Regions from separate parts of the Homo sapiens genome. Here region 2 is linked to region 1. The links are contacts of gene promoters, found by promoter capture Hi-C in blood cells and fetal thymus (Javierre and others, 2016). All regions are on one chromosome and are shown on one strand. The core of a region is centred on a gene start or on the middle of the fragment in contact, and the rest is flanking DNA. Distances in the headings are between cores, read along the strand shown. Region 1 holds the start of METTL4 (methyltransferase 4, N6-adenosine). Region 2 overlaps SMCHD1 (structural maintenance of chromosomes flexible hinge domain containing 1).

Region 1 (3,342 bases), core at 364-2,863:
TGCAAATTAGAACCACAAGGGAAATACTCACGTTTGAGGGGTATAGAGGCCTTGTTTATTTACATCCTGGGATCTTAACTCCTGCATGGAGAGGCGGCCAGCACCACCGCTGGAAACTGAACTGCGCTTCATGCTTATGACCTACATTCACGAATTCAGTATTTAAAAAAAACTTTCCAGACAGAGATGGTACATTAAGCAACTATTTATCCTTAAACAGAAAGACAGTCAGGTTTCATTGTTTCTTCAAGATCATCATCTTTCCCCTGGGGTATCTCTTTTTTGTTCATGTACACTGAAGTTCTCATTTGCAAGGAACATCTATTTAATTCCATTTAAAAATATTCAACATAAACATTTATTAACTGCCCACTATATATATAGGGGAGTGTGCTAGGCAATGCAGGAGATGCAAAGACGAGTAAGTTACGGTTTTTGCCTTCACAAGGGTATCCGTGGTAGCTAAAGCCCTGTCTGTTACCCAGACCACATTACTGCTGTTGGCTGTGCCTATTTCAATAGGAAGACAAAAAAATTACCTCAAATTCTCTTATTCACCTCAAAATGTTTCCTTTTCTTTGGTTTCAGAGAATGGAATTATTCTGTTTTCCTAATGTCAATCTCTCCTGCTCTGTCCTTAACCCATTGTTTCCTCAATTACTGCCCTTTTGGCATCAATCTCCCCTTCAACAAGGATAAATCATCCGGTCCATAAAATGGTCTATAGGCTGCCTCCATTTACAAACCACATTAACAGGTCACTCCCTTCACATCTGCTAAAAAATTTGTCTCCTAGGATACACATGATTGACAAAACTTTTGATCCTGTCTCATCTCTGCACCCAGCCTTCTCAGGTCCTGCCCTGGCTTTCAGGAAGGTGACAATCCTTTTACTTCTCTGGGTACTCCTTAGTCTTTTACACTGATTAGACTCTTCTTGATTTTGGCCGCCTATTTCCTCTTCAATATGCGCTTGTTCATCTATTCAACTTTTCCACTCACACCTGTGTGTCCACGTTTAATCTCCACTTAGAATGTAGCTCTCATGATTTAAGATGAAGACTTCTACACGCAGTCCTACACGGCCATAAGAAGCTACACTAGTATTCAGACGCAACCCACCCAACGAGTCCTCTCTTGTCCATCTCTTTCCGCCCCCTTCAATTCTTCCCCGTTTCCTCTCCCGAGCCTCCACTCCTCATCAGTGTCCCCCAGGCCCTCCCCTTTCCTCCTTGGGAAATCGTTGCCACTAGAAATTTAATAGATCCCGTGAAACCAGCGCCTCGCACAGTTTTGGCCTCGAGGCTTCTCCCAACAGCAAACAAACACCAAAACATCGCCTCAGGACCTCTAAATTTAAGTCATTGGCGCCATCACTTTCTTCCTCCAGAACAGCTCTGCAGAAACAAAGTTAATCCGATGTCATTCAGTCACCTTTTTTCCAGTTTCCTGACACGACCCAGGGACCGAATTTCTGTAAACCGTGCAAGTATCTGCTAGACAGGACAGCGGTCATCAAAACACCAGGTCCTTCCTCGGCCCGCCAAAGCCGTTCGAATTTGAAATTCTCCGCCGGCGCTGACGTCATTACGCACGACGCGCGCAGTAACTTCCATGCGACCGCCTCGTCGCTGGAAGGCTGCGTGCTGGTCGCGCCCAGCTGCGTCACCCCAGGAACTGGGGTCTGTGGGCCAGTGTGGCCGTCTCTACGAAGACTGGCACGACCCCTAAAGTTAGGTCGGAAGACCTGTGGGCAGCTTGAGCGCCGAGGAGTGCCCTGAACGCTCAACTCGCCCTGGAAACGTTTTTCCGTACAGCAACATGGCGGCGCCCATGGACTCTTAGAAAAGGAGAAAGCTTTTTCTCTGTGGACTGGAAGGGGCATTTTTCATGATCACTATTTAGATGGGTGCTGTTTTCATGAGGAGAGTCTGGGAAGGCGGCGTCCGCTTTTCTGACAAGGGAAGAGGTGAGGTGGGAGAGGGGCTGCGGAGTGGGTGGAATGGGCTCCCAGGATTGCGTTGGTACGGCTGCCGAAATTCGGGCTCAGTATTTGATCACTTGCCGGAGGCTCACGGTCCTCTGGTGGTGGCTGACCTGTGAGAGGCTAGGAAGAATCCAAGTGTTTGGGGGCGGGCGGCGAGGGAGTGGATGTGAAGCAGAGACGCAGGAGAGGGGTGCACTAACAACAGTAACAGTAGATCACTTTGCTAAAATAGGATTTCCTCGCTGCTGTGAGTTTGAATCCAGAAACAGGCACTGCCCGGTACCTGGAGAGTGGTGGTGATGAAAGATCTCACAGCTCCAGGAAGTCTGGATACTTGGGTCTGGTAGCAATTGTGCCATTAACTAGCGTTGTTATTTTTGGGCAGCTTGCCTTTCTGCTCTGAGTTTCAATTTTCCCGTCTGAATTTCTAGCTCTCACTAGCCATTCCAGGACCCTTTTCACCTCAGCTGTGGCCTATGAAGGGGATGGGGAGGAACCAAGGATTATATTAATATAAAAATTATATGAAAATTAGGCAACCGTCTGATAATAAAAAGTCTCCTTGTGGAATACTGTTAGGTTAAACTTTACCTACAGATTGTTAAATCCTTAGCACTAATGTTTTCCCCAGAAAAGATTAATGGAAACATCATTTGCTTTTCTGACTAGATAGTTGCTGCTTCCAAAGGTGGTTTTACACAAATACAAAATTAAAAACACCTTTAGTACAGAAATAATTGCTTGTATTTCGGTATACATTCACAGTACAGTTCAGCATTTAGTGGTCCTGCTAGCAATTTGCCAGGAAGTCAAGCCTGCCAATTTCCTGATATTCCTGCTGTGCACCCCAACTTCTTAATCCCTGCTGAGGATCTTGAGAAGCAGCAGCACCAAAACCAAAGTAGGCACCAAATTCAAGGTTCTTTTGGTTCCGGTTGTCACATTTCAAGCTAGACTCCAATAGATGGAAGGATGATCACATGTGAGCCCTGTTTAAAACTTCAATTTTTAAGAGCAAGCACAATTGCAGGAAAAGAAAACAATTCAGAGGGATCATGTGTGCTTACAGTTGTCTTCATGTGGCCTTTTCCCAGGTTTAACCACCAAGGACCCTGACAGCCGGGGTGTCTGAATAACCCTGGTGACTCTTTTCACCATATCAAAACCTGAGTTAAAAGGCTGATGATAACAGCAGAAGGTGGCAGGGCTGAGGACCCACTATTAATTTCCTAGGCTGGTGGAGAGTGAATAAATGTTCTTCCAACCTTACCTTATGGCTTCTGGTCAAAGCAAAGAAGTGTCGTGGAAAGTGTTGGGTGGTGACAGTGCAAAAAGAGACTTGACGGGGAGGGAGC
Region 2 (3,342 bases), core at 342-2,841, 110 kb before region 1:
GAAAGAAAGAAAAGAAAGAAAAGACAGTATAAATGCATTCTTTGTAAATCTTCTATCTGATTCAAAAGATCAAGGCATAAAATGGTAAATATAAAACTCTAGTAACAGGGCTATAATGTATAACGATCACATTTATACGAAAATGATAGTACACGAAAGTGGGAGGAGAACAAAGCTAAGTAGGAGCGGTTTTTGTATACTACAGAGTATGTCGTTGGTATTAATCCAGACTGGATTGTTATCAATTAAGATGCTGGTTGTAATCCCTAGAAAAACAACTAAAAATGTAGATTAACAACTATTGGCCAGATGCGGTGGCTCACTTCTGTAATCCCAGCACTTTGGGAGGCTGAGGCAGGTGGATCGCTTCAGCTCAGGAGTTGGAGACCAGCCTGGGCAACATAGTGAGACTCCACCTCTATAAAAAATTAGCCAGGTGTGGTGACATGCACCTGTGGTCCCAGCTACTTGGAAGGCTAAAGTGGGAGGATCACTTGAGCCCAAGAGGCAGAGGTTGCAGTGAGCCAAGATAGCACCACTACACTCCAGCCTGAACGACAGAGCGAGATTTGTCTCAAAAAACAAAACAAAACAAAACTATTAAAAGGATATTAGTGATTGCCAGGAGATAGAAAGTGACAACCACTTAGTACAGTGTTTCTTTTGGAGTTGTAAAAATATTCTGGAATTAGTGGTGATGGTTGCACAATTTTAACTCAAACTACTGAACAGTATGCTTTAATACTGTGAATTTTATGATACGTAAATTTTATCTCCATAAAAGATAAATTCAATGAAGATACATTTAAGACAGATACAAGCAATTAACTGTATAATATGTGAATTTTACCTCAAGATTAAAAATATTGAACCCTAGAAATTAATACGGATACTTTCAAAACTAGGAAAAAGTATACTGACATTTATAACTTGTTTTGAACTGTATTAAAAAACCAGATAAACTAATGGTGGGACAGATATATAAGGAGTAAAGCAACTATCAACGGTAAAACCTAGGTGTGAGTATATGGGTATTCCCTGTAGAATTTCAACTTTTCTGTATGTTTTTAAATGTTCATAATAAAATACTAAAGGAAAAAAAACAATGCTGAGGAAACACTCAGATCCAGGTTGTGGACCATTCTACAAGAAAACTAGCCTGAACACTACAGAAAAATTGAAATATTATGAAAAACACAAAAGCTAGGGAAACTATCATAGAATGAAGGAGATCGAACATGACAACAGGAAAAAAACTTATGAAAATCTTATGTTAAATATTGTTGCATTAATGATAAATTTCTTAGATGTAATAATGATTTTGTAGTTATTTATGAGAATCCGCTTGTCCTCAGAATACACATGCTACAGTATTTGGGAGTGAAATCTCACAAACTGACAGCAGTGTACTTTCAAATGATTCAGAAAAGCAAAGTGTGTGTGTGTAAGTGTGTAGACAGATCATAAATGTGACAAAATGTTAACAACTGATAAATCTAGGTGAAGGATATATGGGTGCTAGTTCTTTCATCTTGTCTATTGGCTTGAAACGTTTCAAAATAAAAAGGGTGGGGTGAGGGAGTAGTACCCAGGTAAATGAGAGTTACAAATAATATTTCCAAACTGAAATTCTCACATCTCCCTCTACTCTCCCCTCTATCTACTATGCTACAGTCACAATAGTCTCCTTTCTGTCCTTCAAACAAAATGAGACTGTCACAATTTCAGTCTTTGCTTTGCTGGTGCTTCTTCTACCTGAAACACACTTCTCACAGATCTTTATTTGGCTACTTTCTTCTGATCATTCAAGCCTCAACTCAAATATAATCTCAAAGAGGCCCTCTTCTCCAACCACCTTATCTAGAGGAGATGTGCATCAGCTCTATTATTCTACATTTTTTTTCTAGCAATCCATTCCTTCAACATTACTCTTACATTTTATTCATAGTAATAATAACTGAAATGCTTTTACATGTAATTTTTTGTATTTACTTCTGTTTCTCTCTCCAATACAACATAAGCTACAGGTCAAGACTGTTAGTTGTTTAGTACTTTTAGCCTGTTCTTGCCTTTCTTCTACAGCCTGTCTTCTATGACATCCATCCTTGTATCCAGAAAAAAACAAATGGAAGGAGTAAAGCAACTGAGCAGAAGCTAGAGGCTGAAGGGGTGTATCTGATATTGATAGAAATTAGAGTGGGTCAAGGAACTGATAATGGACTTAAAAGACAGTACGAGTACCTAACAGCTATAATAACAACTGATTGTTTACTGACACCAAACCCATAAAGCTAAGACTAAAACCAGCAGCAAAAAGATTTTTGCCAGAAATTACAATTTCCCTAATATTTGGTTAAGTTTAAAAGTTTGTTTTGTTCTAAGAACTAGAGAGAAATCAGAGTCAATGTCCCATGAATTCAGTTAAGATTTGCATTTCTTTCTACTCTTCCAGTTGATATAACTGATGTTTTTCTGACCATTTTGCCTAATCTACCATCTGTTCTACCTTCCCTTCCACCTAATACTTCTGTGATATGCTAAATCCTATCCTCACACTATCAAAGACAGTGGTCTTTGCCTTCTCCCTGGCTTTTTATAAATCCTTTAAATGCCACATATTTATGAAAATGGTGAAATAGAATGGTTGTGGAGAAATCTAGGCCAGGTGCAGTGGCTCACGCCTGTAATCCTAGCACTATGGGAGGCTGAGGAGGGCGGATCACCAGGTCAGGAGTTCGAGACCAGACTGGCCAACATGGTGAAACCCCATCTCTACTAAACATACAAAAAATAGCCAGGCATGGTGGTGGGTGCCTGTAGTCGCAGCTACTCGGGAGGCTGAGGCAGAAGAATCGTTTGAACCTGGGAGGCAGAGGTTGCAGTGAGCCGAGATTGCACAACTGCACTTCAGCCTGGATGACAGAGCGAGACTCTGTCTCCAAAAAAAAAAAAAAAAAAAGGCTGAGGTCAGGAATGAGAAGTAATAACTAAAATGACAGCTTCTATAGCTTATATTTATTGACTGTTTACCATATGCGAGGCTCTGTCCTAAGGATTTTACATGTACTAACTCACTTAGTTGTCATAAAACCTCATGGGATATTATCCCCATTTTATGGCTATGTAAGCTGAGGCACAGAGAAGTAAAGTAAGTTGACCAATGTCACACGATTAGTAAGTGGCAAGGCTAGAATCCAAACCAGGTTCAAATGATACAAGAGTCTGTGTTTTTCATACTACCTTGTCTCTTAAATGGCACTGTTAAGTCTTTACTAATTTGATTAAAATTCTGAGGGTGCTGAAATTTTAGAAGACCAATGTTTTAGCTATATTAACACACTG

The links. Contacts are between HindIII fragments. The CHiCAGO score rates a contact against its expected background, and 5 or more counts as called.
Region 2: a contact is called between a fragment that was not itself captured here and the fragment with the promoter of METTL4 in region 1, in 9 of 17 cell types (naive CD8 T cells, total CD8 T cells, naive CD4 T cells and 6 more). The highest score is 14.8, in naive CD8 T cells.

Annotation. Positions count from the first base shown.
Region 1 is chr18:2,569,776-2,573,117 of GRCh38, reverse strand. METTL4 (methyltransferase 4, N6-adenosine) reads left to right here and starts at 1,613. Exons shown (of 9, transcript NM_022840.5): 1 at 1,613-1,969. It overlaps NDC80 (NDC80 kinetochore complex component), which reads right to left and starts at 1,561. Exons shown (of 17, transcript NM_006101.3): 1 at 1,435-1,561; 2 at 32-141. The coding sequence starts at 132. RefSeq lists enhancers at 1,556-1,715, 1,598-2,520. The HindIII fragment of the contact is 2,186 bases long and covers 1-1,859 here.
Region 2 is chr18:2,674,880-2,678,221 of GRCh38, reverse strand. All of the region lies in intron 5 of SMCHD1 (structural maintenance of chromosomes flexible hinge domain containing 1), which reads right to left. Among named protein-coding and RNA genes, the nearest start is that of SMCHD1, 21 kb to the right of the region's middle. The HindIII fragment of the contact is 8,128 bases long and covers 1-3,342 here.